Regions from separate parts of the Homo sapiens genome. Here region 2 is linked to region 1. Evidence: promoter capture Hi-C in 16 types of primary human blood cells and fetal thymus (Javierre and others, 2016). All regions are on one chromosome and are shown on one strand. Each heading gives the region's core, a stretch centred on a gene start or on the middle of the fragment in contact. The rest is flanking DNA. Distances are from core to core; before and after follow the strand shown.

The links. The method cuts DNA at HindIII sites, captures the fragments that hold promoters and counts their contacts. A CHiCAGO score of 5 or more calls a contact.
Region 2: a fragment that was not itself captured here is called in contact with the fragment with the promoter of SLC44A5 in region 1 in 1 of 17 cell types (M2 macrophages); the score reaches 5.3 in M2 macrophages.

The regions. Positions count from the first base shown.
Region 1 is chr1:75,609,487-75,612,689 of GRCh38, reverse strand. It overlaps SLC44A5 (solute carrier family 44 member 5), which reads left to right and starts at 1,576. Exons shown (of 24, transcript NM_001130058.2): 1 at 1,576-1,650. The HindIII fragment of the contact is 10,824 bases long and covers 1-3,203 here.
Region 2 is chr1:74,780,417-74,783,619 of GRCh38, reverse strand. No RefSeq gene overlaps it. Among named protein-coding and RNA genes, the nearest start is that of TYW3, 49 kb to the right of the region's middle. The HindIII fragment of the contact is 2,629 bases long and covers 181-2,809 here.

The DNA of each region.
Region 1 (3,203 bases), core at 327-2,826:
CTGTGCAAAACACTAGGGATACGGTAATGAACATGATAGACAATGAAGTAAGAGGAGGCCTGGAAGAAGCAGGTGACAAATAATATGAACCAGAAAATTTCACATAGTGATTAATACCAGGAGAAATAAAACAAAGTGATGTGCGAGCAAATGATTTTGAGGTTACTTTAGATTGTCTGGAAAGGTGGCATTTGTGTCGGGAAACAAGTGATGAAGAGTAATTTGCATGCCAAGAACTGGAACATAACACTTCAGGCCTTAAGGTAGAAATGAGGTGGTAGCTTGGCACATTCACATACAAAAGGAAGAGGTGTAATGTGTAAGGAAGAGACAGTTAGGGAGAAGCCAGGCCTTTTTGGTCATAAAAAGGAATATAGAGTTTAAGTGCAATGAGAAGCCATTGGATATTCACTTGCTATTTGGGGATACATTCCTCTCCTGGAAGATTATTTCAGGGAGAGGAGCATTCCTACATCAACTCCCTAGGCCAACTAAGGTGACCTAATAGACTTCACTTTTCTAAAAGGTCCAGTTATACTCACGTTATTTTCTCTTGCTATTCACCAGAATACCTATGCAATTTCAGGCTGAGATATTGATAGCATCTCTAGGAATCCCTGCTTAGAAAACAATTCTAGAGAGAATGAGGATTAATTTAACATTTAGTACAAGATGATAAGATTAGTCACTTCCCTGGCAAGCCTTTCAATGCAAGTAAGTCTTAGGAAAAACATATTGTAATGGTAGAGGGGGATTCTGAGGGGTCCAGAACATGACTGTGCAGTAGGCAGAATGTGGAAGGCAGCATGAGGGGCTCCTAGATAACAGAAAGGGGTCCACAGAAGGAGAAGAGTGATGTTTGGAAGGGGACATGAGAAAGCCTCTAAAACAACATCAGCCAATTCGTGATTTTGCCAAGTGGAAGCCTGATATGAGCATGTTCCAAGAGAAACATTCTCATTCAAACACAGAAAAAGTTTAAACCAGGGTACTTTTATGCTTTTGACTGATCTTTTTATAATGAAGCATTTGTAACAATAAAAGCACACAGATGTTTACAAAGTCTCTTTGATTTTACTTAATCACTGTCAGGTTGTTCTGATGGATTACAGACCTCACAAATGAAAATAGCATGAACATATTAATGATAACTGCTGTTTGTTGGAGGTAGTTGCTTGATAGCTAGTTAAGGAAATCATGCTCTTGGGTCTCATTTTACTGTAGAGATGTTGGTAAGTGGGATATGGGGTATATTGGATGATTTTCTTTCCCCTAAGCATTTGTGACAAGAAGGTGCTATGATATTCAGGAAAGACACAAATAATAGTAGATTATTTTAAAGGTAATCATGGCCTACTTCCACCTCCAAACTACCTACTTCTTTGCCAAGGATTAACAATGAAAAAATATACTATAGCTCCAGGACTTTGTTCAGTCTCCTCCCCCTCTTTATACTCCAAGTGACTCCTTTGAGGCTAGCAAGGCTAGTAGGACCTCAGGGATTACCTAAGAATGGGGTATGGCCCTTAGTGATACTGGAACACAATGTGTTTATGACATCAGCTTTTTTTTCACAGTAGTGAATCGTAGCATGTTAGAGTTAGAAGGTTCAGTGTTGATGGAGTTATTGAAGAAATGATGGAGTAAGAGGTGAGTGATACTGCTAAATGCAAGAAGTCTATGTCTGTAGGAAAATTGGTCAAGTTTGTTATTCATAAGTACGTATTCTATACAACTCAAGAAATACACACACACACACACATATATATAGTGAAGTCTGAATATAAATTAGGAACTGAGCACTTCCTCTCCGTGTGTGTGTGTGTATATATATAGATATCCTGGGGGATTATTTAAAGAGAGTAGTATTTTTACATCAGCTCCCTAGGCCAAGTAAGGTGACCCAATGGACTTCACTTTTCTAAAAAGTCCAGTTACACTTATGTATCTTCTCTTAATATTCACCAAAATATCGACAATATTTCGGGCTGAGATGTTGATAACATCTCTAGGAATCCTTACCTACTGGTATTCACACCTGTTCATACTCCCCTTCCAAAATGAATCACAGCTGACCATGTGATCAGTACTGTACAGCAGAAAACTACATCATAAAGACATACACTATGGCTTCTGCCTTGTTCTTTTGTATTCTTTGCTTTCTTATGTTGCTCATTTTGGGGAAACCAGATGCCATGTTTTAAAAATACTCAAGGATCCCTTGGATTATTTTTTGAAGCAGAGGTTCATACAGATATTATTAACATTTCAGCCCAAAATATTGTCGGTATTTTGATGAATAGTAAGAGAAGATACATAAGTATAACTGCACTTTTTAGAAAAGTGAAGTCCATTGGGTCACCTTACTTGGCCTAGGGAGCTGATGTAGAAATATTGCTCTCTCTAAATAATTCTCCAGGATATCTATGTGTATATAGGTATATGTATGTATATGTATATACCTATGGAGAGAGAAGAAGAGCTCAGTTCCTAATTTATATTCAGACTTCACTATGTGTGTGTGTGTGTGTGTGTGTGTGTGTGTGTGTGTGTATTTCTTGACTTGCATAGAAGTCTTGAATCTTAGCTCTGTGTGGGAAGAACTGAGGCCTCCTGCTAATAGCAACAACTTGCTAGTTATGTGAGTGATCTATCTTGGGAACAGACCCTGCAACCAAGTCAAGCCTTCAGATGACTGTAGCTTCAGCCAACATCTGACTGAATTTCATGATAGCCCCGACCCAGAGCTATCCAATCAAGCTGCTTCTGGATTCCTGAATCACAGAAACCATAAGATATAATAAATGCTTACTCTTGTCTTAAACCACTAAAATTTGGGGGTAATAGGTTACATAACATTAGATCATGAATATACCTGTGGTTCATTATTTTTGCACCTCTATCATGAAATGTAATATTTGTTACTAGTTCCAACACTGATCTTGAATCTTAGCCCTCTTTCCTATTTAGTGAATTGGGCTGAAACCCTGAAGTTCTCTTTTCTTGTTTCCCTTGAGTTTCTTGTAGCAGCTTGCTTTCTCCTCTGCTTTTTTGAGTACTGATTCCTGGCTCCTCTAGTTCATTTAGTTTAGAAGATACTTTCCAAATTGAAGCACTACCGAACCAAAAATCAGAGTGATAAAGAGAATACAAAAGCCCTAAAATCTCCCAACAGCACAAGATTTCACAGTCCTCCAAACTAA
Region 2 (3,203 bases), core at 246-2,745, 830 kb after region 1:
TAACTAATTTAGTGTTCACAATTATTCATAGAAATGCCATTATTATTCTCATTTTATATATGACAAAACTGAGGGACAAGGTGATTAAGTAACTTTTCAGGGTAGTGGAACTGAATTGTGAACCCAGGCAGTTGTTCCCAGATTCCAGCATCTTAACCACTAACGCAGTTTTAGAAAGCTTCATTAGTTTTCTATTGTATAACACATTACTCAAACTTAGTTACTCAAAACAACACTCATTTGTTATCTCACCGTTTCTGTGGATCAAGTGTCTGAGCCTAGGTTCTCTGCCTCAGGATCTAAGCAGGTAGCAATAAAGGTATTGGGTTGGAGGCTTGAATGGGGAAGAATTTACTTCCAACCTCTTTCAGATTGCTGGAAAGATTATATTTCTTGCAACTGTATTACCGAGGAATCTGCTTTTTGCTAGCTTTTGGCTAGTGTCTACTCTCAGGACTGAGAGGGCACCTGCAGTTCTTTGTCGTGTCACCCTTTCCATAGGCAGCTTATGACACGGAAGTTTGTAATGGAAAAGGTGGAAAACATTCATGAAGACATGAGAAATTTAAGCAAAGATGTGGAAACTATAAAATAGAGCTAACCTGGGATACAGGAGCAAGTCTGAGTACTGTATGGTGCTTGACACTTAGATCAACATCCAGATAATCGTCATGGAGAGAGTGCTATAAATTGAAGGAGGAGAAGAAGAAGCGGGAGGAGAAGGGGAAGGATAAATGAAAGGACAAGGAGAGAGGGAAGCGGAGGGGGAGAAGTAATGGAGGAGGTGAAGAAAGAAAGCACTGTTTTATTAAAAGTTCTGTAACACATTAGGGCAAGGGCAGATCTGAAGATGCATCAAATAGAATGTAATGCAAACAGTCGGAGACATATGTCCCTTTACCATGCTTATTTGGCGCACTGAGGAATTCAGTACGTTGGGTGTAGCCAGCACCTGGCAGAGCAGTGATAGGGCATGGAGGGAACTTCAGGTTCCTGAAAGGAGGCAGTGTTAGTTTCTGACAGGAACAGTGGTGTCTGGTATACACTTCAGTATCTAACGGAAGCACAAGTGAAGGTTAGTAAATGTGTTAGCATCCCAGTGGAAACAGTAGTAAGCACATATCTCAAAACAGTTTACTTAGTTTATACATGGTATCTTCTGGAGACTCCCGGAAAATGTACTGGGGACTTTTCAGGGACTTGATGTCTTGCATGGTATGTGGGGGCCAAAAAAAAATGACACCTGGATTAATATTCTGTTAATATTCTGTTAATAATATACTGTTAATATTCTGGCTATAAAATGGGCTGATAAGCCCTGCTTCTACTGAGATTTTGATGAATTAGAACTATTTCCCTTGTTGCAGAACTTTCATGATGAGGGAAAAGTGGTTTATTTCCTTGCTGTGTATAAAGTTGCTCAGTTGATATAACAGTCAGTTAAGAAATCAAAGAATATTCACCTTATTTTAGAATAAGTCTTGTTGATCCAAACCACAGGTGTTATTCTGTTAATGGTTTCATTTGTTCTTGAAAGACATCAACAGTCTTTTCCCCTTTCTATTTGGCATTCTTTTCTTTCCAGAGCATAGCTTATTGTGTGGGGGCTATGCCTTTTCCATTTTCGTTTATAAAAACTACTAGGCACTGCTTTAGTTACTTTACATTTATTGAGACAATTTCTTACTCTCAACTAACCTAATTTTATTTCTGGTGAAACTTGACTATCCTTAATAGGCCTTTCTGTTTTAATTCCTTGCATATTAGCACTGCTTTTCAACATCACTAGGTTGATTACAATCAAGAGCTTTAACTGCACCGTCCTTCAGTTTAGGTTTCAGTGTATGGATTTGAACAACTTATGCAACTCTGTCAAAAAAGGATTAACTCTGTCCTTAAGATTGAATTATATTCTTAGCAGAGTCTCCATTGAAAGTCACTTTTAAAAAAAGTAATCCAGGTGGCTCATAGTACCAAGTCAAGTATAAAAATAATAGAAATAATGACTTCTTTCTACTGTGTACAATGAAATTTGATGGAAATATTCAGGCCATGCAGCACTTGCCATTTTTAACATTATATTTGCAACAACATTTGCAGCTATAAGATAAAATATAATAATGATAATTACTGAATTATTAGTTATATCCACAGTTTTTGTAAAAAAAGAAACACTTTTAAGTTCACTAAGTCAAATAAGAGTACTTAATGTTTTGTGCAATTGTATGTTGTGTTTATTGGGTATTGGTGGCTAAATTCTTCCTGGTAAAAGGGTGGGAGAGAAATGAGAGGCCTCTAGAGCAACCAAACTGTGTTATAGTTATATCTTGCTTGTGATATACAACAGATACCGGATGGAAATCTGGACCTACAAAGTAATTCATTAAAAGTTGATAATTTGATTTCTAAAAGGATTCACTGCAAGGGGTTTTAAATTGTGGTCTCTAGAAAATAATGAAATGCTTATCAATTTTATTGCTAAAAGCAAGGTACATGTACCTCTGCTACTTTAGAGCTGAGCTGTGGAGATTACAAAAAAGTTCTGGGTTTTCCTTACAGGTAAGCTCCCCCCATCTGCCCTCTGACCCCCTACCAACGAACTTCAAAAACAAATGCATTAATTACCAATAGTTTTGTCCACATTTCTACCAGATTTGCCTGGTGAGCATGATTTTCAGCAATGGCTGTAAAGGTGCTGCTGCTGGTAATCACTTTTGTGAGTATAGCTGAGAAGAAAGCATTTTACAAATAACATCCTGCGGTAGGCCTGGGAGGGCAAAGCTCAGGGTCTCTTGCCTGAGAATAAGCTTTTTTACATCCTGATTTTTCCTGTCATTTACTGTTACTCAGAGGGAGAAGCACAGAGAGTGGGGTTTTGTGGCTTCAGGTTCATTTACATATGCATTGTTCAAAACCACTTGGACCTGGGCAAGGCTCAATTTTGAGATTCTGCTGACCTAGCAAGGAAAAGATTTAATGATGAACACGAAATTAGAAATGAAGATTTTAAAAAACAATAAAAACAAACTTGTTTTAGTGAAAACTTTCATGTTACTTTAAAGGAAATGTAATGCAAAACAATTTCTTTCTTCTCAAACTGACACAAATTGACTGTTGTTTTGTTTTTAACCTTTTACTTTTCTATCTTGCTCTGATTTTCTTTAAACAATTATGTTAGGAACTGATGGGATATCGTTCTCCAT